6 separate regions of the Homo sapiens genome follow, and all the other regions are linked to region 1. Evidence: promoter capture Hi-C in human tissues and cell types (Jung and others, 2019). All regions are on one chromosome and are shown on one strand. Each heading gives the region's core, a stretch centred on a gene start or on the middle of the fragment in contact. The rest is flanking DNA. Distances are from core to core; before and after follow the strand shown. Region 1 holds the start of BOD1 (biorientation of chromosomes in cell division 1). Region 2 overlaps CREBRF (CREB3 regulatory factor). Region 3 overlaps BNIP1 (BCL2 interacting protein 1). Region 4 has its middle 29 kb from the start of NKX2-5. Region 5 overlaps LOC105377731 (a long non-coding RNA gene). Region 6 overlaps STC2 (stanniocalcin 2).

The links. The method cuts DNA at HindIII sites, captures the fragments that hold promoters and counts their contacts. A contact is called where the count stands out against the background at its distance.
Region 2: a contact is called between a fragment that was not itself captured here and the fragment with the promoter of BOD1 in region 1, in 1 of the 25 tissues and cell types used here (ovary).
Region 3: a fragment that was not itself captured here is called in contact with the fragment with the promoter of BOD1 in region 1 in 1 of the 25 tissues and cell types used here (IMR-90 fibroblasts).
Region 4: a contact is called between a fragment that was not itself captured here and the fragment with the promoter of BOD1 in region 1, in 2 of the 25 tissues and cell types used here (IMR-90 fibroblasts and liver).
Region 5: a fragment that was not itself captured here is called in contact with the fragment with the promoter of BOD1 in region 1 in 2 of the 25 tissues and cell types used here (IMR-90 fibroblasts and dorsolateral prefrontal cortex).
Region 6: a fragment that was not itself captured here is called in contact with the fragment with the promoter of BOD1 in region 1 in 4 of the 25 tissues and cell types used here (IMR-90 fibroblasts, aorta, hippocampus and 1 more).

What each region holds. Positions count from the first base shown.
Region 1 is chr5:173,613,991-173,618,436 of GRCh38, reverse strand. It overlaps BOD1 (biorientation of chromosomes in cell division 1), which reads left to right and starts at 1,787. Exons shown (of 4, transcript NM_138369.3): 1 at 1,787-2,237. The coding sequence starts at 2,001. RefSeq lists enhancers at 1,511-1,590, 1,611-1,870 and silencers at 1,851-1,920, 1,931-1,980. The HindIII fragment of the contact is 11,068 bases long and covers 1-4,446 here.
Region 2 is chr5:173,128,994-173,133,439 of GRCh38, reverse strand. The region is part of intron 8 of CREBRF (CREB3 regulatory factor); the gene reads right to left. Among named protein-coding and RNA genes, the nearest start is that of BNIP1, 13 kb to the left of the region's middle. RefSeq lists an enhancer at 4,159-4,446. The HindIII fragment of the contact is 4,974 bases long and covers 1-4,446 here.
Region 3 is chr5:173,164,364-173,168,809 of GRCh38, reverse strand. It overlaps BNIP1 (BCL2 interacting protein 1), which reads right to left. Exons shown (of 6, transcript NM_001205.3): 6 at 4,423-4,446. Among named protein-coding and RNA genes, the nearest start is that of BNIP1, 22 kb to the right of the region's middle. The HindIII fragment of the contact is 6,261 bases long and covers 1-4,446 here.
Region 4 is chr5:173,262,215-173,266,660 of GRCh38, reverse strand. No RefSeq gene overlaps it. Among named protein-coding and RNA genes, the nearest start is that of NKX2-5, 29 kb to the right of the region's middle. RefSeq lists an enhancer at 1-1,463. The HindIII fragment of the contact is 6,740 bases long and covers 1-4,446 here.
Region 5 is chr5:173,288,446-173,292,891 of GRCh38, reverse strand. All of the region lies in intron 3 of LOC105377731 (a long non-coding RNA gene), which reads right to left. It also overlaps the pseudogene RNA5SP200. Among named protein-coding and RNA genes, the nearest start is that of MIR12118, 13 kb to the left of the region's middle. RefSeq lists an enhancer at 174-423. The HindIII fragment of the contact is 4,421 bases long and covers 1-4,154 here.
Region 6 is chr5:173,319,413-173,323,858 of GRCh38, reverse strand. STC2 (stanniocalcin 2) reads left to right here. Exons shown (of 4, transcript NM_003714.3): 3 at 429-640. Among named protein-coding and RNA genes, the nearest start is that of STC2, 6.8 kb to the left of the region's middle. RefSeq lists an enhancer at 1-116. The HindIII fragment of the contact is 5,604 bases long and covers 1-4,446 here.

The sequences.
Region 1 (4,446 bases), core at 538-3,037:
TAAGATGTGGGGTGCCAAAAATGGAGAAGGGACTAGTCAGAGTGATCAAGGGCTTGCAGAAGAAAGAACCTGGGGCTGAGGCAGCCTGAACTGGGCTTCTCCTGGGGTTAAAGGTGAGTGATCAGTGTAGAGTCAACCAGTAGGAACAGACATTAGGTAATCTCAAGGATGGTGAGCTATTAAGAGAGAATGTTTGTCATTAACTGACCCATTGTGAATGATTGAGCTGGTGTTAGAGGATGAGTATAATCCAACACCTGAATGTTTCTTTTGAGGGTTAATTTAAACTCTCTTGGACAGGTGTGGTGGCTCACACCTGTAATCCCAGCACTTTGGGAGGCTGAGGCGGGTAGATCACTTGAGGTCAGGAATTCAAGACCAGCCTGGCCAACATGGTGAAACCCCCATCTCTACTAAAAATACTAAAATTAGCCAGGTATGGTGGCATGCGCCTGTAATCCCAGCTACTCGGGAGGCTGAGGCAGGAGAATTGCTTGAACCCAGGAGGTGGAGGCTGCAGTGAGCCAAGATTGCACCACTGCACTCCAGCCTGGGCGATAGAGTGAGACTCTGTCTCAAAAAAAAAAAAGAAAAAAAAATTAAACTGTCTTGAGTACTAAATATTGGTGTGGAGAACATCCTGGATCTTTGCCAATTCTGCATCTTCGCAGGAGCCAAGGATATTGCAGAATTTGCTATTTACATCCCCTCTGCTGCTTGTGTAAGATGAGGAAACAACAATAGCAGACATAATTGCTGAGGTTGGGAGGGGGAGCTGAGCTAACAATAGGCAAAAGATGAAGGGAAGAGAGGATAATGGTGGCAGCTATAGGATTCCAATGGTGAATTGTGGCTACTTAAAAAAATCAGGATATAAAGCCTTACCTATTGTGGGATACCAACTAGCTCTCAGGATACCTCAGGCTAAAATGCAAGATTTAGATCCTCAAAACCTGGGTTCAAATCCTACTTTTCTACCTCTAGGTATGTGATTAGGTTAACAAACTTTCTTCTGCCTCCATTTCTACGTCTGTAAATAGCAATAATAGTAGTATGTATCTGCTTTTTTAAATTATCGTGAAGAAGTGCGTGGAAAGTGCATAGCATCACGCCTGACACTTTTCAATTATTCAATATTGGCTTATGATTGACAATATTTAATATTTGGGAGGAAATCCACACACATATAAGACAGACTTAAGGAAAACTTTTATTTTCTTCTTCACACTTTTCCGTTATTTTCCAATTTTCTAAAATGAGTATGCATTGCTATTAAAACCAAAAGGAGGGAAACTCACAAATTTCTGAACAATAGAAGTTTGACTGTTCCACTGTTTCCGGAATTTCCCGGAACATGTTGTTCAAGAAGGACGTGGGAGTGCATGCTGAAGCACAGATTGCTAGGTCTCGACCCGTAAATACTGGATAAAAATCTTTAAGAAATAATTCTGGTAATCTATACTTTTAATCAGCTCCACAGATGACTGTTATAATCGGGCACTGCTGGGACGTGTTGATTGAATGGGAAGTGAGCAGAGAGTGGGCGGGGAAGGCCTGGCGGGGAAGGCCTGGCGGGTTGCAGCGATCACGAGGCCTGCGCCTACAGTTCCCATATTACCCCGCGAAATCGCGACGAGCAAGCACGAACCCTGCCGGGAGTTGTAGTTTCTCTCGGCTAGGCCGCTGCCTATAAAGAACGCCGGAGATGGCCACAGAAAACTTCCCGCCCCACAATGCAAAGGTCAACGTTGACGCCATCTGGGGTGCGCCTGGAATCGAGCAGGCCGTTTCTGCCGCGTCCACCACAACCTCTGCTGTATCAGAGGGGGCCTTCGCCGCCGCCGCCCCCACCACCGCCCCTGCCGCCATCGCCACCTCCGCCGCTGCCGCCTTGGGGCCCTCCTCCTTCACCGCCCCCTTCACCACCTCTACACGTTCTAGGCCTTCTGTCCTGGAGAAGAAGCTATAGTCGTTCTCCCTTGTGGGCCCGGGGCGCAGCCATGGCGGACGGCGGCGGCGGCGGGGGAACTGGCGCGGTGGGCGGCGGCGGAACTAGCCAGGCCTCTGCCGGGGCAGCGACTGGCGCTACTGGGGCCAGCGGGGGCGGTGGCCCCATCAACCCGGCCTCGCTGCCTCCCGGCGACCCGCAGCTCATCGCTCTCATCGTGGAGCAGCTCAAGAGCCGGGGCCTTTTTGACAGCTTCCGCCGGGACTGCCTGGCCGACGTGGACACCAAGGTAGCTGCGGCCGCCTGGGCGTTGGGGAGCGGGGCTGCACGTGAGGCCGCCGGGTGGCAGCTTTGATTTTCGAAAGCCGAGAGCAAAACAAAAGATAGCTTAGAAATCTCAGCGGTGAGGTCTTACACCGCTTGGGGCAGTACGGAGAGCTTTCTGAGCGATGCACACGTGGGTTCCTGCCTGATACATTTACTACTAGTTGTGATTTTACCCAGTCCCTTCTCCGAACTTGGGGTTTCAATGTGGGTTTTAGAGCCTAGACCGTATCATTCCCAAGATGGAACTCCTCTGAGGCCCTTAATAACAAACTTCGAAACCAAGTAGATAAGCAAGCGTGCTTTAGAATTTCCACCTGTTCCGTACTCACCACTGAGAAGCTGGCATTAAACACAATGATTTGAACACACAGTCATCACCATTTTATAGCTGTTTATTCCTTTTCTCTAGCTCATTGTTTTGCAGACTAGTACGGCGTTGAATTAAGATAAATTGTAGAAACAGCACCCTTATTTTGCACTTCATCATTGATAAAAGGAGATTTGGTGCCTAGTTGAGATCCTAATGCCATTGGTCAGTCCCACCAGTAAAACGCTATTTCACTTTACCTACTCGTCAGGGTGGTTTGGATTCAATGAAATAATGGGTGTTAAGTATCAGACATACAGTAGTTGCTGGAATGTTCATTTTCTTCCTTTTCAAAACTTGTCTAGCCACGACTGTGGTTGTAGGTTAGGAGACCCTGTCACTGGACTCCTGCAGGGTAGTGATTTCTCCTACCAGAGCCTGTCATGGAAACATTTTGCTTACCTCACAGCAAGATTGTGAGCTTAGAATTAGACCTTAAGATAGGGAAAAACGTAGTCTGTTTATTCGTTGAACGTTTATTGGCCTCTAGTTGCCAAGCTGTGCGATTACAGGAATAAGTCACTACCCCATCCTCAAAACTTATAGTCTAGGTTAGAAAACTGACATGTAAATAAACCAGGTGGTAAATACGGATGTAGAGAGAGAAAGTGGTATACACTGTTCCTTCTCCAAGATGAAAAGCCCAACTAGAAGTCTGTCCTTGAAACAAAGTAATTTAATACATATACATCCCAGATCTGTATTGACAGAGCTTTCACCTTTCCTAGGACAAGTTCTCCATTCATATTTCTTATATTCCGTTAGGTTTTGTGTGTGATTTTAAAACAAAAGCGACTACAGTAGCCCGCCCCATCCAAGGTTTTGCTTTCTGCGGTTTCATTTACCCAATTGTTGCGGTATGGAAGTACTTGTGTTCAGGTAACCCCTATTTTACTTCATAATGGCCCTCAAAGACATTCATGCGTAGTGTATATAGGGTTCAGTACTACCTGAGGTTTCAGGCACCCACTGGGGATCTTGGAACGTATCCCCTGAGGGGGGAGGGGACTACCCTCTTGAGCGGCTGGTGAGGGAGAGTGGTTGGAACCTTCCCATGTACAGCTCCTTAGCTGTTCCTTCTGAGAATTCCAGGTTGTTTTAGTTCTTGAAGATAGTGTTTTTTCAGGCATATCTTATCTGAGACCTTTGTTGCTTCAGCCCAGTGGTTCTCAAAGCGTGGTGCTTGGATTAACATCAGCATCACCTGAGAACTTGTTAGAAATGCACATTTTGGGCCCCACCCCAGACTGCTGAAGTATTTAGGGGAAATTGAACAGATGTCTGTAATTTACTTTGCACTGTAATTTACTTTGAACTGATAAGTGAACAGGTGGAGGGGTTGGTAGTACAGTAAAACGTTATGAGTGGGCTCATGAGTTCCTTTGACTTCTTGAACTGAGATGATTCTGTATCGCCTGGGTTTGTTACGTGTTTTGGTGGTGATGTTCACTGTCCTTTGTCCTTTTTCGGTAAACAGTTCGTATCATCTCAAACCAGGTGCGTTATTTTGAGTAGACGGTATGGCATCAGGATTTATGCTTACAAGGGACAAAAATAATCCTAACTGCTTTATGCAAAGGGGAGAATCTATTGTCTTACGGAATCCAGGGAAGGATTGAACGAACAAACTCTCCCAGAGGGTGGTAGGCGTGCGTTTGGAACCAGATATTCCCCATTCGTTCTGTCTTTCATCTCTGTTGATATCTGTTTTACTGTTGGTTCAGAGTGGAGTCATCCATTTGGTTACTAGTATCTCTTGATTACATTTTACAGCTTCTTCCTCTAGAGAGAGGCTGTCAGCTCC
Region 2 (4,446 bases), core at 1,149-3,648, 490 kb after region 1:
GATTAGAAAAGTCAAACCAAGGATAGCCATGAAAAATCATAAACCAACATTTAAAGTGAGGTAGATGACAAGTGTAACAGTCCAAATAACAGTCCAAACCCAAACCCAAAGGCTGCCGACAGGCACTGCTTCCCACGCCCTGGTTTTTCCCTGTTCTCTCAGCCAGTCTCTTCCAATTACTCTAAACTCACCAAGTTCCATGGGTAGGTTTCACCCATGAAACTGAAAATATAGACCTGAAGGATGTTTTGGGTCATTTTTATAATTACTGGATACAGTTTAAGTTTCCTTTTCTTCATTTAAAAAAGTGAATGAACGAATAAGAAATGTTGGAAGAGAAGAGGGAGAAAGGTGGGAGCAGCATAAGTATGTAGATTTTCTCATCTTCCTCATCTTCCATAGTAAGACCAAAAGATAAAATCACTAAATCAAATAACAGAGGTATAAGTACATTTTTTTAAGTATTAAGAAAAATAAAAAGGATGGAAATAGAAATATATTTGTCAGCTAGGCACGGTGGCTCAGGCCTGTAATCCTAGCACTTTGGGAGGCTGAGGCAGGCGGATCACCTGAGGTTGGCGGATCACCTGAGGTCGGCAGATCACCTGAGGTCGGAAGTTCAAGACCAGCCTGACCAACATGGAGAAACCCTGTCTCTACTGAAAACACAAAATTACCCAGGTGTGGTGGCACATGTCTATAATCCCAGCTACTCGGGAGGCTGACGCAGGAGAACTGCTTGAACCCGGGGGGTGGAGGTTGGGGCCAGCCAAGATCATGCCACTGCACCCCAGCCTGGGCAACAAGAGTGAAACTCTGCCTCAAAAAAAAAAAAAGGAAAGGAACGGGAGGGGAGGGGGAGGGGGAGGGGGAGGGGGAGGGGGAGGGGGAGGAAAGAGGGAGGGGAGGGGGAGGAAAGAGGGAGGGGAGGGGGAGGAAAGAGGGAGGGGAGGGGGAGGGGAGGGGGAGGGGAGGGGAGGGGAGGGGGGGAGGGGAGGGGAGGGGAGGGGAGGGGAGGGGAGGGGAGGGGAGGGAAAGGAAAAAGAATTTGTCGGCTGGGCGCAGTGGCTCACGCCTGTAATACCAACGCTTTGGGAGGCCAAGGCAGGCAGATCACCTGAGGTCAGGAGTTTGAGACCAGCCTGGCCAACATGGTGAAATCCTGTCTCTACGAAAAATACAAAAAATTAGCTGGGCATGGTGGCGGGTACCTGTAATCCCAGCTACTCAGGAGGCTGAGGCAGGAAAATTGCTTGAACCCAGGAGGCAGAGACTGCAATGAGTCAAGATTGTGCCACCGCACTCCAGCCTGGGCAACAAGAGTGAAACTCCATCTCAAAAAAAAAAAAAAAAAGAAATATATTTGTCATTGCTCATAGGAAGAAGTCAAAAGATATCATAAAAAATACTGGCCGGGCATGGTGGCTCAGGCCTGTCATCTCAGCACTTTAGGAGGCCGAAGTGGGCAGAGCACAGGTCAGGAGTTTGAGACCAGCCTGGCCAACAAGTTGAAACCCTGCCTTTACTAAAAATACAAAAATTAGCTGGGCATGGTGGCAGGCACCTGTAATGCCAGCTACTTAGGAGGCTGAGATAGGAGAACCACTTGAACCTAGGAGGCAGAGGTTGCAGTGAGCTGAGATTGCACTACTGCACTCCAGCCAGGGTGACAGAGCAAGACTCCGTCTCCAAAAACAAACAAAAAAAAGTGTGTGTGTGTGTGTGTGTGTGTGTGTGTGTGTGTATACATATATACAAGCTTAACCATGTGATCAAACTTAGCATGACAAATAATGAGACAATCTGATATTATGTGCCTCTTGACTGATGGAATGAAAAGGTTGTATGATGTATTCTTACCAGAAAATCTAACTGCATTTAGTCATGAGGAAACAGATAAATCCAAATGTTGAGACATTTTACAAGACCTGGATTTTTCATAAAAATAAAATAAGATGGGGAGACTGATGTAGACTAAAGAAAACAAAAGAAGAGATATGACTAAATGCAATGCATGATCCTCGACTGGATCACACACACAAAAAAATGCTATAATGGACATTATTGAGACAACTGGGAAAATGGATTCCATATTAGATATTATATCAATGTTGAAGCACTAGGATGTGACACTGGCGTTGTGGCTAAGAGAATGTCCTTGTTTTCAAGCAATACAGGCTAAAATAGTTAGAGACAAAGAATCATGATTTTTACGAGTTATTTTCAAATATTCCCTGTCCAAAATACACATGTAGATAGAGGTAGAAATAAAGCAAATGTAGCAAAATATTAACAACTGGTGAGGGCTGGGTGGGGTGGCTCATGCCTATAATCCCAGTGCTTTGGGAAGCTGAGGCGGAAGGATCACTTGAGCTTAGCCTGGGCAACACAGCAAGAACCCGTCTCTACAAACATAAAAATAAGTTTGCTGCTGGCCACGTGAGCTGGCTCATGCCCGTAATCCCAGCACTTTGGGTGGCCAAGGTGGGCGGATCACTTGGGGTCAGGAGTTTGAGACCAGCCTGGCCAACATGGTGAAACCCTGTCTCTACTAAAAATGCAAAAACATTAGCCAGGCATGGTGGTGTACGACCAGTGACTTGGGAGTCAGCTGAGGCAGGAGAATCATTTAAATCTGCTAGGCAGAGGTTGCAGTGAGCCAAGATCACGCCACTGCACTCCAGCCTGGGAGACAGAGTGAGACTCCATTTCAAAAATAAAAATAAAAATAAAAATAAAAATAAATAAATTAGCTGGACATGGTGGCGCACATCTGTAGTCCTAGCTACTTGGGAGTTGGTGCTGAAAGATCACTTGAGTCCAGGAGTTGGAGGCTGCAGTGAGCTATGATAGCACCACTGCATTCCAGCCTGGGTGACAGAGCGAGACTGGTTTCTAAAAAAAAAAAAAGCAATGAATTTTAAAGAACAGTGAAAACAACTGGTAAATCCAGTTGAACGAAACATATATGTTCATCGTACAATTCTTTCTCCTTTTCTATAGGATTAAAATCTTAAATGAAAAGTTGACAGACAAAATAAGTATACATTTTATGTTACAGTTAAAAGCCAATCCACAAGGTAAAAACACAAAGCTTTGAAAATTATCAGAGGATACAAACAAAAGTGAAACCATAATGGATCATGTAAAGGCAAAAAAAAGGCCACATAAACAAACTCTAGCAGATCTTTTGATGACAGCACTAAAACCAAACATAGATCAATTTTTTTAAAAATGAGCTAAACTCACCTATTAAAGTACAACCTCCAGAATAAATAACAAAAAAAATCCAAATACATGCTACATAAAAAAATCTAGGCCGAGCGTGGTGGCTCACGCCTGTAATCCCAGCACTCTGGGAGGCCGAGGTGGGTGGATCACAAGGTCAGGAGTTTGAGGCCAGCCTGAACAACATGGTGAAACCCCGTCTCTACTAAAATACAAAAATTAGCCAGGCGTGGTGGCATGTGCCTGTAATCCCAGCTACTCAGGAGGCTGAGGCAGGAGAATCGCTTGAACCTGGGAGGCAGAGGTGCAGTGAACTGAGATCACTCCATTACACTCCAGTCTGGGCGACAGAGCGAGACTCTGTCTCAAAAACAAAAAACAAACAAACAAAAAAATCTAAGAAAAAATTTTCTGATATCTGAATTAAAATTAAGTTACATTTTAATTTAACTAAAATGTTTTGTGTGTGTGTATTTTTTTTTTTTTTTTTTTTGAGATGAGGTCTGTCACTCAGGCTGGAGTACAATGGCACGATCTTGGCTCACTGCAGCCTCCATCTCCTGGGCAAAAGCGATCCTCTCGCCTCAGTCTCCTGAGAAGCTGGGATTACAGGCTCGCATCACCATGCCTGGCTAACTTTTTGTATTTTTTTTCTAGAAATGGGGTCTCCTTATGTTGCCCAAGCTGGCTTCGAACTCTTGGGCTCAAGTGATCCTCCTGCCTTGGTCTCCCAAAATGTTGAGATTATAGCTGTAAGCCACTGCACCTGGCTAAAATGTTTTAAAAAGATGTAACTGGCCGGGCGCGGTGGCTCATGCCTGTAATCCCAGCACTTTGGGAGGCCGAGGCTGGTGGATCACGAGGTCAGGAGATCAAGACCATCCTGGCTGACACGGTGAAACCTCGTCTCTACTAAAAATACAAAAAATTAGCCGGGCGCAGTGGCAGGTGCCTGTAGTCCCAGCTACTCGGGAGGCTGAGGCAGGAGAATCGCTTGAACCCGGGAGGTGGAGTTTGCAGTGAGCCGAGATCGCGCCACTGCACTCCAGCCTGGGCAATAGAGCGAGACTCCGTCTCAAAAAAAAAAAAAAAAAAAAAAAAAAAAGATGTAACTAATATAAAATGATTCAGAGGCCGGGCACGGTGGCTCACGCCTGTAATCCCAGCACTATGGGAGGCCGAGGCGGGTGGATCACGAGGTCAGGAGATCGAGACCAT
Region 3 (4,446 bases), core at 1,079-3,578, 450 kb after region 1:
TGACTGAGACACTGTGGCCCATTAAAGATGCAAGTTGACCAACACTACGAGCCCTGAGGTTTCTGGTGTGTAGCAGCCTGGGCCTGCTGTTGGGGACTGAAGGGACATTGGGGTGATAACACCCACCCCTCCCCTCACCCCCAGGCTGAGCCCTTCATTCCTGACAACAGGGCTGAGACTCCTGTCTGCTATCTCTTAGATTAGCCCACAGCTATTTTTATTCTGCTCTTGCTCAGGGAAGAAACACAGCTTGGGCAAACCCTCCAGCAGGGCCCCAGGGAAGACCACCATTAGCCAAGGAAGAACACAGAGCTTGCTTCACTATCTTTTCTCAGCCACCTACATACACTAACACAATGTATGGATGCCTTCTTTTCAGAACAAGGTTGACACGAATCTGTCAAAATAAAGCGAATGCTCATCTCCTGGTTTGGTGGGAAAGAGGTTTCAAAGAGATGGGCTGGATGAAGGGAAAAGAGACCCAAGAAGGAGAAAATAGGAAGCGTGCTAGGGAAGCCAGGAAGCCCGGGAAGGCCCAGGCTGTGGGGTGGGGAGCGATCAGGAACGTGGGGCGGATGAGGAGCACCAGCCACAGGGCGGTGGAGCTGATCAGGGTCTGGAGCTTGCCTGGGAGGCCTGCATTGCACATTTAACTTTTGAATTATGGCTGAGCATCCTGTAGATATGGTCAAAGTGTAGGAACATGGATGACCTTTCCTTTGATACAAAGGGAACAAGATCTGAAGCATTTAAGCCTGAATAGGAGAGGAGTTGCCAGAGAGGTAAGACGGAAGCCAAGAGAGCGTGGCACCACATAGCCGGGGAGCTTTCTGGAAGAACCAGTGCCCAACAGGGCCAAAGATTGTGAGAGGTAAGAAAAGGGTGGGTATGGGCGGGAGATGGGCTCCAGGTTGGCAGCCTGAGGTCACTGAGCCCCTACACTCACCTCTTGCCACGCAGCCTTGCTTGCCCTCCTCAGATGTGCCAGTGTGCCCCTGCCCGGCCTTTGCTCCAGCTGCTCCCTCTGTGCAGAACCCTCTCTCGACTGTCCCCAGGACGCACCTCCCCTGCCTCAAGTCTTTGCTCAAATCCTACCCCAGTGAGACCAACCTTGACCACTCTGCTTAACACTGCAAACCTGCTCCCACCTCTCCATCCAGATCGCCATCAATAAGCTCCACTCTTCCCAAACCACTCATTTCATGTATTAACTGTTTATCATCTGCCCAACATCCCCTACACACCAGAAGGTCCATGACAACAGAGAATCTTTGTTTTGTTCACTGTGTAGCTCTAACACAAGTACCTGGTACATAGTAGGTGCTCAGTAAATACTTCTTGAATGAAAGATCTCTTGATGACTGCTCTATACCTTTAACTCCTTGACTGTCAGCTAATCAAAATGTAACAGATGAGCCGGGCACAACGGCTCATTCCTGTAATCCCAGCACTTTGGGAGGCTGAGGTGGAAGGATTGCTTGAGCCCAGGAGTTTGAGACCAGCCTGGGCAACAAAGTGAGACTTCATCTCTACAAAAAATAAACAAAATTTAGCCAGGCGTGGTGGTGCACACCTGTAGTCCCAGCTACTCAGGAGGCTGAGGTGGGAGGATCGCTTGAGCCTAGGAGGCAGAGGTTGCAGTGAGCCATTGTCGCACCACTGCACTCCAGCCTGGGCAAAAGAGCAAGACCCTGTCTAAAAAAAAAAAAAAAAAAGGTAGCATCTGAGCTTGCATTACTATTTAACAGTGAAAATTATGGCCACTTAGGAAACATATCCAAAAACAAAATATAGGTAAGCTTCATACATTTATGTTTTAAAAAATCTGGCCAGGCGCGGTGGCTCACGCCTGTAATCCCAGCACTTTGGGAGGCCAAGGCAGGCGGGTCACGAGGTCAGGAGTTCAAGACCAGCCTGGCCAAGATGGTGAAACCCAGTCTCTACTAAAAATACAAAAAAAAAATTAGCCGGGCGTGGTGGCAGGTGCCTGTAATCCCAGCTACTCAGGAGGCTGAGGCAGAGAATTGCTTGAACCTGGGAGGCGGAGGTTGCAGCGAGCCAAGATTGCGCCACTGCACTCCAGCCTGAGTGACAGACCGAGACTCCGTCTCAAAAAAAAAAAAATCTGATACCTACATATAAATATATACTGCATATACACACGCAGTACATATATATATATATGCAGTGTGTGTGTGTGTGTGTGTATATATATATATATATATATATATATATATATATATATATATCCATAAGAGCATTTCAAATGGACCGATGAAGATTACCACACCCACTGCAAGAAGGCAGAGCAAATGTGGACACTGCCCTCTCATGGTTGAGCATGGAGAGGGCCGCATTCTGCTTTGGGGAAGGATTAACCCTGGTGGCTGGTGGAGGTTGCAAGATGTTGTTATCAATGACATTTCAAAATGGGTCACATTCAACTCTATTTTCAGGAGGAGGCAAGTAAAAGAGGAATAAAGTGTCAAAGGGAGCAATTTTAGGGCATACAGAGCCCACGCAATTCCATATTGTGAGGAGGATGTTGACAATTAGTGGGAAGCAGTAAAGAAAAATGTTAAGACAAGAAAATCTGAACTTGATAACATCCATCTGCTGCACTTACAGCTGGAATCTGAGTGGGAATTTCCCATCTGTGCTTTATTCTCAGCTTTAATTTGACTATAAATAAGACACATGTGTGCACAATCTGCACCGAGTGTCTTTTGGGGCCAGGAATTGTTTAAGGATGATATACAGCCTACAAAATTATGTGTGTGTGTGTGTGTGTGTGTGTGTGTGTGTACACAGTGTGGATCTATACTTAGATCCACACTTTAACTTGGAATCCACTCATTAAGCTGGTCTGAGATGTGCAGCTAGTTTTTTATAACTTGGTCCCATGATGATCTGCCACTTTATAACTGAGGCCTTAACTCTTGACATCCTCTGCTCAAACACCTCTAACAGAATGCTGGTGCCTGGCCCAGCTTTTCCTGAAGCACCGCTGCTGTCAGCTGCAGGAAACCTCAGTGCCCAGGGCCCAGGGGGTGGCAGCATTTGGAAAGGCCATGGCAGGCCTGGTCTGAAGACAGCTAGCTACACTTGCTGCTTTATATTCTCATTGGATTCTCAAGTTGACTCTATGAGGACCCATATGGATTATCACCTCCATTTTACAGATAGGAAAACTGAGGCTTAGCAACATAAAGTAACTTGCCAATGGTCCTGTGGTCCATTAGCAGTGGAGCCAAATCTCAAAACCAAGTGTTTGAGCCAAGGATCAAAGTCCATGTTCTTCCCACTTTCCCTTCAGCCTCCACACTGCCCTTCCCAGGTCCTCTGGGGCTATAAATAGTGGGGGAGGCTGGGATTTCAAGCTTGAGGTCAGCCAGGCCTGCAGCACAAAAGACACAGCACCTCTAGGACTGGCCTAGCCTGGGCCCTCTCCCTCTGGCCTGGACAGAACTCAGGCTCACACAGTCTCAGCTTCTCACTAGCTTCTCCCTCCTTGGTTATACTTAGCTCTGGACATCAGAGAGAAAGGCATGTGCCAGCCCGAATCACTGCACACCCCCAGGCCTGGCCAGGCTGCTGTGGTAGAGAATGGCATTGCAGCCTTTTCAGATGTTGGTGTGAGCCACTTCCAACAAGGGCTGTTTTCTGTTCTGTTTCTGTTTTTTTGTTTTTTTTTTTTAAATACAGACAGGGTCTTGCTATGTTGTCTAGCTGGTCTTGAACTCCTGGGCTCAAGTGATCATCCTGCCTCAGCCTCCCAAAATGCTGGGATTAGAGGTATCAGCCACCACACCTGGTTGAACAGGGGCTGTTGGACCCTCCTTCCTGATAGTCTGTGAGATTTTATTTCCGTGTCTCCTTCTGTTCCTCCTTGAGGGAGGAACCATGTCTGGTTCACCAATGTATTTGTCATGTTCAGCAGCGTCTATAACACCCTGTGTGTGGCAGCTGTTTAATAGTTCCTTGTTGTTGGGTGGGGACAGAAAGAAAATAACAATGCTAATTCGTTGTTGAATGAATGAATAAATAAATAATCTAGGTTCATGTCCTAAAAATCTGGACATCAAGAAAAGAGGGCTGGGCATGGTGGCTCACACCTGTAATCCCAGCACTTTGGGAGGCCAAGATGGGTGGATCACCTGAGGTCAGGTGTTCGACAGCAGCCTGGCCAACATGGAGAAACCCCATCTCTACTAAAAAAATACAAAAATTAGCTGGGTATGGTGGTGTGTGCCTGTAATCCTAGCTACTTGGGAGGCTGAGGCAAGAGAATCTTTTGAACCCAGGAGGCAGAGGCTGCAGTGAGCCAAGATTGCGCCATTGCACTCCTGCCTGGATGATAGAGCAAGTCTCCATCTCAAAAAAAAAGAAAAAAGAAAAGAGGAACACACATTCCCAGAGGGCTATCTTACAAAATCAAATACATTT
Region 4 (4,446 bases), core at 1,278-3,777, 350 kb after region 1:
GATGACACTGGTTCCCTACTTTACCCTGCAGGTGAACGCCACAAGGTTCTATGTAGAGCCTCTTCCTGATCCCATCTTCTTCCGCCTTGGCTTGGACACTGCTCACCCACTAAGATCCTTGGTAACGGACTGAGATCAGAGATGACAGTTGACATAGGATCTATGGTGGGATATTAACTATAGTGCAATCTAACCATATCTGAGTCTCTTACTCCGCATCAAAACCTTTTTCCTGAAATACTTAACAGAGAACAACCAAAAAATACATATAAGAGAATAAAAAGAGAAGGAAATCACCATTCATCGAATGTATGCTAAGTGCCAAAAATTATTTTTCAAACATTATGTATTTTCTTTAATGCAGCCCTCAAAACAGCTTAGAGGATAAGATGCTCTCCTTTTTGTGGATGAGAAAACTAAGTCTCATGGAAGTTGATTAACTTGCCCAAAGTCACCCAGGTAAAAGTGGTCGAGCAAAGTTCAAATCTGGTGAGTCTGACACCAAAGCCCAATGTCTTTGCCCCCAAGCCCTTTGCTCCCTGCCCCTGAAAGGACTTAAATACACAACAAAAGCAATGAGTGGGTAGGAAGACGAGAAGGAATATAAGCTGAGATTGACAAGATTCCAGGTGGTTGGAATAAAACCTTTGGGTTTTGGATTCCAGGTGGTTGGAATAAAAGCTGCTAATAAAACCTTTATTAGCAGATGTTTTAGCATTGTGGAAGCGTGCGAGCTTAGAAAAAGAAAGCCAGAGAAGGAAAAAAAGTGAAGAAGTAAAAAGCAAAAGCTCAGGGAAGCATTGTGGAATGAGCCTCTCAGCTCCACATTTCTGCCTACTACTCCAGAAATGGATTTCTCTGGCCAGTCTGAAACTGCGGGAATCCGCTGCCTATGAAATGAACAGAACCAAGTCTTCCATCTCCGCCAAACAGGCAACTCCGCCGTAATCTAATCACACCCCTTGAAGCCCCAGCCAGCAATCTCTTTCCCTCACCCTGTCACAAATGCCATCACGTTGCATCACCGCCTCCCTCACATGCACAGCCCGGGCAGGACACTGGGACCTGTCTTGGCCACACATCCACAGTTCGGCAGGGTCAGCCCTGGTTCTGCGCAGTTCACAAAGGCCAAAACAAGTGTGAGCCCCAGAGGGGCCCCTGCCAGGTGGCAGGCTGAGCTGCCCAGGGAGGTCAAGGTTTGGAGGTTTTCTTTTAACCAAGTCCAGGGATCCTCACTGCTGCACACTGTGGGGTCTGCTCACGGAAAGTTATTAGACACAAAAACTAAAGAAAAAGAACTAACCCGGGGACGCTTCCTGAAATGCAATTATGGGGGAAAAGAAATGAGAAAAAGTACGATAAAAACTCACCTGATCATCCAGATTCAAGATTTGACTTGCAGAATGGTGTACCATTAACCTGCCTGATGTTTAGAAAGCAACAAAAGAGACCACCTGATGCAAATTGCTCTGGGCACCTGCACCCTGGGGCTGGGAGTCAACAAGGGCCCTCCTTCCCACAGGGCTCAGATGCCTTGGGAAATCTAGGGTGTAGGACCTGGGCTTTAGCACCTCACATTTACACTGGGTTCCAGGTTTCCATGTAGCTTATCCCATTTGCTCCTGCAATAATCCAGGAGGCAGGTAAGCCCAGTGTTAACAATCTAATTTGACAAATGAAGAAAGAAAAGCACATGTGACCCAAAGTTTTTTTTTTTTTTTTTTTTTGAGACAGAATCTCGCTCTATCGCCCAGGCTGCAGTGCAGTGGTGCCATCTTGGCTCACTGCAACCTCCGTTTCCTGGGTTCAAGCAGTTCTCCCTGCCTCAGCCTCCCGTGTAGCTGGGATTACAGGCGCCTGCCACCACACCTGGCTAATTTTTGTATTTTTAGTAGAGACAGGGTTTTACCATGTTGGCCAGGCTGGTCTCGAACTCCTGACCTCAAGTGACCCGCCCACCTCGGCCTCCCAAAGTGCTGGGATTACAGGGGTGAGCCACCGTGCCCAACCTCAACCCAAGGTCGTAGAAGTAATTAGTTACCATGCTGAGACTAGAACTAATAAAATCTGGAAGGGTGAACTCCCATTATCAGTAATAGCAAAGTACGTAATTCAGACTGCCCTCCATTCCACTGAGGACAACTGGGAATGCTGCAGAATAAGTAAATCCTAAATCAGACAAATGGGAAAAAAATCACGAAATGTCTTGGAATACATAATGAAGAGGGATATTGTCAAGCCCTCTCTGTTACTTTGCCCAGCACATTTAGAATTGAGGGTTATTAATCGATTCAAAGTAAATAATGAAATTAACCTGCCCTTCATCTCAATAAATGTAAAATAATAAGCCAGGAGTGGTGGCACACACCTGTAGTCCCAGCTACATGGGAGGCTGAGGCACGAGGATCACTTAAGCCTAGGAGTTCAAGGCTGCAGTGCACTAGAAGGGCACCTTTGAATAGTCAGTGCACTCCAGGCAGGGCAACAGAGCAAGACCCTGTCTGTAAAAGAATAAAATAAATGTAAAATAATTTATGATGATGGTGATTCTTAAATGATGATCACTTTGTCTCAGGTGTAAGGATTTGTCACTAAAGCATACAAAAGTAAAATAAACTGAAAGAAAAATCTGTATAGACTGTGAGAATTTTATTGGTCAGATGAAATGAAAAAGATTATCAGCTTATTTTGCTGCTGTTTATAAGCATCTGTTGTACGCTTTTAATAAATTTGATAATTATTCAAAATAAAAAAAAAAACCGAACTGCTTAAAGACACCAGAGAGCTACAAAATAGTGAAGAATAACCAGCCAGGACCCAAAGGAAGGAGGAAGCCGTGCGAAGTGAGTCTGTCCTTTGAGCTACCCTGGGCCTGGCAGCGTGGGCCAATTCTACCATGGCTGGCAGAGAGGCTGGGTGGACTTTCAAGAGCCTCACGGGGCTAAAGGGGCAGGGACGAATGTGAAGCTTACCAAGATTAGAGTTGAGATTCATCTTGAACTGGGATTCTAAAGGGAAGCTCCCTACAAGTAAATGTGACCCAGAAGCAGACAGGCCCTTGCAGAGACCATGGCTCCACTTCAGGTATTCTAAACCCCCGAAATTAGATTTCAGTAAACCTAAATTGTCGGTGCCCCAGGAGCCTAGCAGAGACAAACATAAATCTTCTTAGGAGGAAAATATCATCATCTGAAGCCTATAATTAGTTCTGCAAGCAATTTTTCAAATGCAATGTCCAAAACACAGTAAAAAATAATAAGCAAATAAATAAGACACAAAGAATACAAAGCAGTATTTTTTAAAGAAAGAAAAATTAAATATAGAAAAATCAACTAATAATAAAGAGGCTGGGCATGGTGGCTCATACCCATAATCCCAGCACTTTGGGAGGCAAGAGGATTGCTTGAGCCCAGGAGTTTGAGGCCAACACTAGTCAGAGTTCATACACAGTCATTTCTACAATACACTATTGGTTACCAGGTCAGTCCTACTCACTGTTGGAGGGGAGTAGGAGCTTCAGTTCTCCATGTGGCCTCCTATCCTTCCAGAATATCAGGAATTGAGAATCACCAAGGTCCGTCTTGGAAGCTGGCTACCACAGGTGGCCAGAGTGGAACTGAATTTTTTCTCACACTCCAGTAGATGGAACAAAATAGCAATGCTGAGAGAGGAAGTACAGAAATGGAAATTAGCTGGGCATGGTGGCACTTAGTCCCACCTACTTGGGAGACTGAGGTAGGAGGATCACTTGAACCCAGGAGGTCCAGGCTGCAGTGAGCCATGATTGCACCAATACACTCCAGCCTGGGTGACACAGACCCTGTCTCCAAAAAAAGGAAAGCAGAAGAACAAGACTGCTAAGATAATAAAGTAATAATAACAGTATGATATCATCAGTAGCTATCACTTATCAAATGCTTCTCTGGCAGTGGGCAATGGCCAAGATCTTTCCATACTCTCTCACTGAGGCAACAAATTACACTCCATGGCCCAAATCTAGCCCACCACCTGATTTTGTAAATCAAGTCTTATTAGAACACAGCCATATCCATTTGAATACATACTGTCTATGACTACTTTCACCTACAACAGCAGAGTTGAGTAATCGTGACAGAAACCATAGGATCTGCCAAGCCTGAAATATTTACTGTGTACCCCTCACCAGAAAAAAATTTGCTGATCTGTTGTCCATCTCATTAAAACCTCATAATAAATCCCATGAAGTGAGTGATATTACTTTCCTTATTTGATAGAAGAGGAAACAGAGGATCATATAAGTGAAGTGACTTGCCCAAGATCATGTCTGTCATAAGTAGCAGAGTAAGGTTCATACCCAGGCAGCCTGACTTCAGGATCCGAGTTGCACTGGGCTAGGAATCAGAAAGGCTGGCTTTTCTGAGTAGCTATGTGGCAATTATTTAAGGTCTTGCTCCTCATTTTTCTCTG
Region 5 (4,446 bases), core at 695-3,194, 330 kb after region 1:
CTGACCTCAGGTGATTCGCCCGCCTTGGCCTCACAAAGTGCTGGGATCACAGGCATGAGCCACCGCGCCTGGCCGAATTTAGTGTTTTATATACTTTGGATTGATCAGTTTAATGCAAGTGACAGAAATCCAACTCAATCCAGTTAAAAAAAAAAAAAAGGAAAGATAGAATATATTGAGTTATTAAACTGAAAACTAAAAAGATTAGGGTTTCAGGCACAGCTACATCAGTGTGCTCAAATGGTGCCATTAGAAATCTGCTTTCTCTGTCTACAGCCACACCGCCCTGGACATGCCTGGTCTTGCCTGATCTCAGGAGCTAAACAGGGTCAGGCCTGGTTAGTATGAGAAAGGGAGAAATCTGCTTTGTCTGTCTCTTGGTTCTTCTTTCCTCTGTACTGACTCAAATCTCAGGCAGTCTCTTTCAACACAATGGCAAGATGGCCCCCCACCAGGCTGCAGCTGACATCTCAGCTTCTCAGGGCCTTAGTAGGAAGAGAGCTTCTCTTTCCCAATAATTCCAACAAAATTCCTCAATGCTAATCCAAACACTAAGGCAATGCAGCCTGACCATCAGGCCTGGGAAGTCACTAGCACTCCTGCAGGAAAGGGGGTCAGGACCTGCCCTGCCCAAACCACATGATTACTTGGGGTGTTTTCCCAAAGGAAACTGGAGATGTCCTCAAAGTGCACATTAATCAAATTCAGCACAAAGCCTGTCATAAACGCAGGGTTACACTGCCCTTAAGATTAAAATGCTGATGATTAGCTTAAATACCTGTGGAAAGAGCCACAGGGCAGTGGGAGTCCAAAACGCGGATTCCACTCACAGCTATATCACTGTGTGACCTTGAATAAGCAGCGTGGCCTACCCAGGTCTCAGTTTCTCCATCTGTCCAATCAGGGGTTGGACTAGAATCCGGGCTCACATCCCTCCAGGGCTATGCAGTTAGGAAATGAGCGCAGTGGCCAGGTCAGCACAGCAGGAAGTGGCGGGGCCCTAGGAGACCTGTGAGTGCAAGTCCCATTTAGCATTGTGATGCCAGCTGTGTGCTACGAGGTCCTCTGATTTTTCAAGGCATTCTATGAAATCTCCTGATTTTTCAGTGTTAAAAACTAATTGTGATGGTTGCACAACTCTGAATTGCACCCTTGACTTGTACATTTCAATAGGTGAATTGTGTGGGCGGCAAATTATATTTCAATAAGGCTGACAGAAATGAATTCAAAAGCTTTTTATCATTTTTCAGCCTTTGAGAAAGGATGCTATGATACAGGAGAATCTTGCAAACCTTATGGGAAGTGAAAGAAGCCAATCACAAAAGGCCACAGTTTGCATGATTCCATTTAGATGGACTATCCAGAAAGGGCAAAAAGCAGATTGGCAGTGGCCAGGGTCTGGGAGGAAAGGACACGGGGAGTAAGTGCTTAAGGGGGACAGAGGTTTTTTCTGGGGTGATAAAAATGTTTTGAGACTAGGTAGTGGTGATAGTCATAAAACATTGTGAAATGTGTTAAATGTCACTGAATTGTACCCTTTAAAGTGGTTAATTTTATGTAATGTGAGTTTTCCCTCAATTTAAAAAACAAAAAAGTTTGCTAAATATTCTGCTAGCCAAATAAAACATATCTGCAGGCTGAATTGGGCCCCGTTTTTAATCACAGCCACACAGTCGCTAAGGTCCCTTTTAACATTTTCTCAGGTCATATTTCCAAAGATCAAAAACGTCACCTCCAGTCGGGGGCATGGTGACCAGCTGACCACAGCTTACAACAAAGAGGAAACAGGCATTCTCTTTCCTCTAAGTAGAGCCTCCCCCAAAATAATTTTAGGCCAGAAAATAAAAGCCTGCTTAAGCTGGAACCACGCCAGCCTTTTTCTTTCTTTCTTTCTTTTTTTTTCCTAACTGCCCTTTGCCACCATGAAGGGCAAAGAGTCGCATCTGGGTGACAGTGAGTGGACTTTGTTGACACAGCCCAACTTCAATTTTTGTGAAGTTAATAATTAGGCTGTCATCCCTCTGCTCCAGAGCAATTAGGGGCCTGCGGAGGCAATGAATGGGCTCTATTATCAAGGGAAATTATAAATAGAAAAAAGCCGGACTAGACGGGAGTTCTGCACAGCATCACTGCCCTGCCCTCTCTGTGCAGAGCTGCAGCGAGCCTGAGTGTGTTGACTCGCCTCCGGTTGACAGCTCAGATCCCAGCTGCCATCCAAAAGGGCTCTAAATTCTGCCTCTGTCATCCGAGCCTGACTTTTTATGCTGTCCAGAGCCTGGCTGAGCAGTCCAGCAGAGCAGCAGGAGAGCCCGGGTGAGATAAACGCCTTTGTTTAAGTTGCCTCCCGACTCCAGGGTCTGGAGGTGTCTGGTGCTGAGCAGGAGGAACTGGACTCAGCCTGACAGGCCAGGGTGTTGGGGACGCTGAGTGACACCCTGCTCAGTGGCTCCCTAGGTCAGGGCAGGTTCCCAGCCAGGGGTGGCAGCCCCCAAAAGTGTGGCCATGGTAGAAAGCAGCCCAGGTTCTCAGAGGAATCGTCTCCACTTGCCTTGCTTCATCCAACATCTCCAACGGGTTCATACCTAACCCTCCCTGCAAACTCTATCTGTCTGATCACAGGGAAACAAAGATTCGTAGTTCTAGAAGAAAAAGAAATCTGTCACTGTAAAGGGAGAGCAACAGTCCAAAAATGAAAACACCCACAACTAGAAAACAATGATAATAAGGCTGGGTGTGGTGGCTCACACCTATAGTCCCAGCAGTTTGGGAGGCCGAAGCAGGAGGATCACTTGAGCCCAGGAGTTCAAGACCAGCCTGGGAAATATGGCAAGACCCTGTCTCTACAAATAATTTTAAGATTAGCCAGGAGTGGTGGTGAACATCTGTGGTCCCAGCTAGTTGGGAGACTGAGGCAGGAGGATTGTTTGAGCCTGGGCAGTTGAGGCTACAGTGAGCCTGGGGAAGTTGAAGCTACAGTGATCCAACCACTGCACCCCAGCGTTGGTGACAGAGCAAGACCTGTCAAGGAAGGAAGGGATGAAAGGAAGGAAGGAAGGAAGGAAGGAAGGAAGGAAGGAAGGAAGGAAGGAAGGAAGGAAGGAAGGAAGGGAAGGAGAAAGTAAGATAGGGAGGGTGGGAGGGAGGGAGAGAGGGAAGGAGGAAGGGAGGGAAGGGGGGAGGGAGGAAAATTCATTTAAGACTCTTAAAACAACCCTATGAGATATGTGCTATCAGCCCTGAGACCTGTATTACCAGGTTTTCTGATTTTTCAAGGCATTCTATGAGATCTCCTGATTTTTCAATGTTAAAAACTGGTTTAATTAGTCGAAATTAAATGAATGTCCCCATTTCACAGGTTTGTAAACCAAGGCAGTGAACTAACTTGTCCAAGGTCACACAGCCAGTTGGTAAAATTCAAATCCAGGCCTTCTGGCTCCACAATCCATGCTCCTACCTATCATCTCTACAGCTCTTACTTCGCTTGATGGTGACGCAGATCAGGGGTGGGAAACAAGAGGGCGTGGTGGGGACTGCGGTGCCCTGGACACAGCACACTCAGACTAAAGGAAGCAGCTGCTGTAGCCGGCTGGTTGCCTTAACAGGAATGAGGACTCCAATATTTTTAAGAAAAGCTGGACATCTGGATTTAGCATGAAATCTGATTTTTAAATGTTGGTGGCCGGGTGAGGTGGCTCACACCTGTAATCTTAACACTTTGGGAGGCAGAGGCAGGAGGATTGCTTAAGCCCAGAAGTTCGAGACCAGTCTGGGCAACATAGTGAGACCTCCTATTTTTTTTAATAAAATAAAATAAATGTTGCCAACTCACTCAAAGCTCTTAAAAACACCAAGCAGATCAAACAAAGCACCTTGTGTGGGCCGCCACTTTGCAACTCTGATATGGAAGGATGCTCCTGGATCACTGGCCTGACCTCTGGCCTCACTGGGTTCCCATCAGAGTCAAAGTTCAGCTCCTTACTCTCCAGGCATCTTTCCAAGCAGAGAGAGTGAGACAGAGGATGAGCCAAGGACCTGGGCTCAAAGTTGGGCTCTACAAGAGCTGTGTGACTTTGGACAAGTCACTCACCTGGTCTGGGCCCTCATTCTCTCATTTGTAAAGTAGAGATGACAATAATTTCTGTGTCACAGGATTGCTCGGGGCCTGGATGAAAAGGACGCAGGAGGAACAGTTTGGTGGGCTATAGAGCTCCTTGCAGATGTGTTGGGGCCACCTCGCCCAGGTAGCCTCAGCCTGTGGTCTGCCAGGAGAGGTAGAAAGGAAGTGGCCCCAACCCCACCCCACGCAGCCAGGGTCTACCTCACAGCTACTTCCCCCACCTCCCGCCTTTGCACCCACACAGCCTGGAGCCTGTGCACCCCGCATCCCTGGTGACCTCGCCACCACGCTTCCTCCCAAGAGGGAGACTGCCCGCTTTGACCAGTAGA
Region 6 (4,446 bases), core at 1,214-3,713, 300 kb after region 1:
CCACTTAGGGAAGACTGCTTGTGAGAACCGTGAGGGATTTATGGATTTGTGTCTGGCCAAATTCCCTTTGTGTTCCAGAAAAGTTGCCACCACACAACCAACACAGGGCTACCTGAGGGACACATAGCCACGGAAGCCCCCGTTGGAGGGAAACTCACAGAGTAGCCAGGGAGGAAGGAGGGAGATGTGTTCGTCTACAGAATGAACATCCCTTGTTGCCCAGTGCTGGGGGTGTCATGTCACTCTGGACGTGCCTCCGGATGTCGCATTGCCTGTCACCTGGGAGGACGTCCGTCTCTGGTGGGGCCTTGGGGTTCTGATGTCAGAAATATCCTGTGTAAGCCCAAGAAGGGCTGAAATGTCCAAGCATGTAACGAGGTCTTCTGCTTTCTGCCCCTCTCTCCCTTCCCCGGCCTGTGTGTTCTCAGGGCAAGTCATTCATCAAAGACGCCTTGAAATGTAAGGCCCACGCTCTGCGGCACAGGTTCGGCTGCATAAGCCGGAAGTGCCCGGCCATCAGGGAAATGGTGTCCCAGTTGCAGCGGGAATGCTACCTCAAGCACGACCTGTGCGCGGCTGCCCAGGAGAACACCCGGGTGATAGTGGAGATGATCCATTTCAAGGACTTGCTGCTGCACGAGTGAGTACTGCCCCGCAGAGGGCCTGGGTGAAGGGGCCACCCAGCAAGGATGGCAATGTGTATGGGAGGAGAGCCGCGTTGCTTCTAGAGGCTGAATGCCTGTCAAATGGAGAAGGCTTCCATTTACTTCAGAAAGCTACACTGACTCTACTAAAAGGCCCCTTTCCTGCTGGCTTTTAGGAAAAGAGAGAATTCCCTCATCAGTCTCAAAATCACAAGCAACAGAAATGGGAAATCGTTTTACTAAGAATGAAATGTGTCGATTCAGTAATACTCTTCATCTTCCCCTTAGCCAAGAACCCACTAGCTCTCAGAATATTCTGAGTAGCTGTAGAGGTGTCCTTACAGACAGCAAATTGCTAATAACATTTGTTGAATATTTACTAAGCGCCAGGCACTGGGCTAAGGGCTCCTTGTGAATTTTTCACTTGATCCTCACCACAGCCCTCGTCACCTCCATTTGACAGATGAGAAAACTGAGACTCACTAAGGCAGAGCTCACACAGCTAGTGACAGGCAAAGCCAGACTTGGGACCTGGCTCCAGTCTGCTGAGCAGTCTGCCTCCAGAACCTATACTCTTAAATCCCGAAAACAGAGCTATAGATGCTTTTCCTGCCTCCTTAACTTTCCTTTCCCTTAGAAGGTTCGGTTTACCTTCTCTCATACATTAGTGCCCTCTCAGAGGAAATGCAAAACAAGTGCCAAAAACTTTAATCAGCTAAACACTTCTATGCCAAAACAAGGAAATGTGAACTTACTTATTTCAAGACTTGAAATTCAATGATAAATTCAGGATGCATCATTTCTTACAAAATATTTCAGCCACAGGATCCTAAATTTTGCAGCATGGTAAAGCATGTTGGTACACAATTGTTCCTAACATGAGGCAGGGCCAGGAGCCCCTGAAGATTTTTTTTTTAAATATTGACAATGGCTCTTTCCTAAGAGACACAGGGCAGAAAGAAAGCCACTAGCCAACCAGTTCAGTACAAGTCATTACCAGTTTGATGGCACTGTTGGTCTCTCCACGGTGACTCATTGAGCCAAATCGGTATAATTTTATGAACTCTTGATCCTCAGTTTGTGCCACAACCTTCTTCCAGTTATGTCCCTACCACACCAACACCACTTAGATGACAGAGAACAGCAAGCACCTCCTGTCTCTTTCCACTTGGTTATAAGGTCATAGGCATCTTGCAACACCCTTGCTACAGTGTTAGAATCATACAATTCATGGCGAAACTCTGCAGGAAGCTCTTGCCAAAAGCAAAACAATATTGCATTTTCCTCGAATTAGGCTAACGCCTTACAAAATATTTTTTATTCTTCAAATATTTTTAAGGGAACAATAGCAGCCACAGCATCATCAACAACAATGATAGCTGTCTTTTTTTATGTTTTTTTAATTTTTTTTCTAATGGTCTAGGCCCTTGGCCAGGGCCTTTACATGGGTTATCTCATTTATCTTTCCCAAAGATGCTACAAGATAGAAATTACTATGCCCAAGAGGAGGAAAGTGAAGCTAAGAGATTAGAGAACTCGGACTGAGGTTTGATTCCTGCTTTTAAGCTTCGGAATTGCTGGTATACATGACTGAAGCCAGTCATCAGGAATAGACTTCAAACCTGCTCCCAGCCTATTATCTCCCTCCTAGACCTGAAAGGGCTCACAGCTCCCCACATGTGGTGGGCTTCTTGTCCTTTTATCAAATATATCCCCATTACACAAGGAGAACACTCTAAAATTCCCTTCCTTCAGGTGCCTCTGGAAGAGAAAAATGCCCCATGGCTAGGAAACACCGTGAGCTTCACTCGCCTCTAGCCCTGTCCCCCATTAGAGAGAGTTTGCTGGCCTCAGGAATCGGTGGGGAATGGGGCCCATTCCTAGTTTATAAGGCTATAATGCATGCCTGGAGCACAGGAATTCTATCTTTCTTGGAGAAAAGTATTCTTTGGGAAAACTGAAGGTTGGAAGTCCCACCCCCTCCCCTTAATTTAAGAAGAAGGTAAAGCTCTCTGGCGTTCTAGTGTCTCCTTCTTGGGAATGTGGCCCTCGGGGCCATGGTCTCCTCACACCATTCAGAATGAGCCTATGACCCCCCACCCCAGCCTGCTCTGGAAATGCAGGCAGCCCATATAAGAAGCCTGGTCACATGCTGTTCCTCTTGCTTCCCCCTAAGTCAGCATCTCTAGGCAGGGGTCTCCCCTAACTCCAGCTTCCCAAAAACCCCCATTACCTTTCCTTCTGAAGCCATGATGTGGCGGTGCATCGACTTGTACTTCTAGCTGAACTGCCTGTTTTTTAGGTTTTTTTTTCCCAACCATCTTAACTGATTAAAGTATCCTATCAGTCCCCAAATATCAAGAAGCCCATTTCCAAATGTGTGGCATTGGTCAAAAAAAAAAAAAAAGAGAGAACTGAATTTGCTTTTCACTTTAGAGATGAGGAAATCACAGTCACCCCAGAATCTGCACCACCCCCATTCTTCAACCCAACCCCCATCCACACCAGAACACTCACCCCCAGTTAATGCTGCTCTTTTCAAGCTCTTCCTCTCCGCTCCCCTCACCCCTTCCTGCCCGCCCCACTTTCTGCACAGCATCTGTCTCCCCCTAGCTGCCGCCTGCCTGGTTTTACCCCCACTCGCCATGTCACTGGGTGCTGGCAGGCTCCAGGCACATCCCCCTCCAAGTATTTTTTAAAATCCTTTAGGCTTGCTGACACCCAGTTGAACGAGCTGGACTTTGTCATTAGACACGGGCTGAGCTTGCAGCCTCAGAAGGCACCAGGCCAGCTCGGAACACGGCTTGGATTAACTTGGTTCGGCACACACACCCCTCCCCGCAGTTCACAGCTTCCTCCTGGAGAGAGAGAGGGCCAAGGGCAGAGGACAGCATGGGCTCATCCAGCCTTCTGGGATCCAGATCCGCCCTGGGCTTCTGGGGGCTCATCTGGCAGACAGAACGCCCTGGCCGGGAAGGCGAAAGACAGTCTGCATATTCCCAAGACAGCCCTCCCCTTACTCTGGGGAAAGGAGCTTGAAGACAGCATCCAGTTAGTATCTCAGAAAGACAGACCCTCACCCCTGCAGTGTGCTCACCTAGCCCTGGTGCCGCGGCAGGCACAGTCAGGTGCTAAAATCCTGTTGCTGCTTTAGCAGACACACTCGGTGAACTTGAGCTCCGGAGGCAGTTTCTAGTTTTCAAAAAATAGAAGGAAACAAGCACGCGTGGAGCATTTCCCTCATATTGCCTCCTGCATGCCCACCTGCCCACCTCAGGGCAGTCCAAGGGACAGGGTTAGGTTGTCTTGCGCTGTCAGGGGCCTGCCTTAGGGGGTTTAAAGCCCTTTGCCCAGCGGCCATGCACAGACTTGCTGACTCCAAAGTCATCAAGCAGGCCCTAAACAGCAGCTGGATCTCTCTCAGCCAGAGCATTCCTCCTCTCTGCTCTGCTCTCAGCCAAGCCCTGGGCCCTGAAGCCCAGAAGCTTCCAAGAGCCACCTTCTCCCTGCTTTTCTCAGTTTTTGCATCCATGAGGTGAGGACAGTTCACTCAATTCCAACTTGAGGAATAATTAATAAAAAGGCAGTAAACTACTTCACACATCTCAAAACACAGTCTGCTCTTTCCACATAGCAACAACTGCCAACTTGCAAAGAAAAGGCTCCATGGGCTGTAACGCAGCCTCTCTGGTGGCCCAGACTTAGGGAGGACAAATCAGATTGCTCCTTGTTATGAATGACCTCACATTCCATGGTGACTTCCCTGCTCAAGGTGATGGCCCAAAGCTGCAATGCTTGTGGT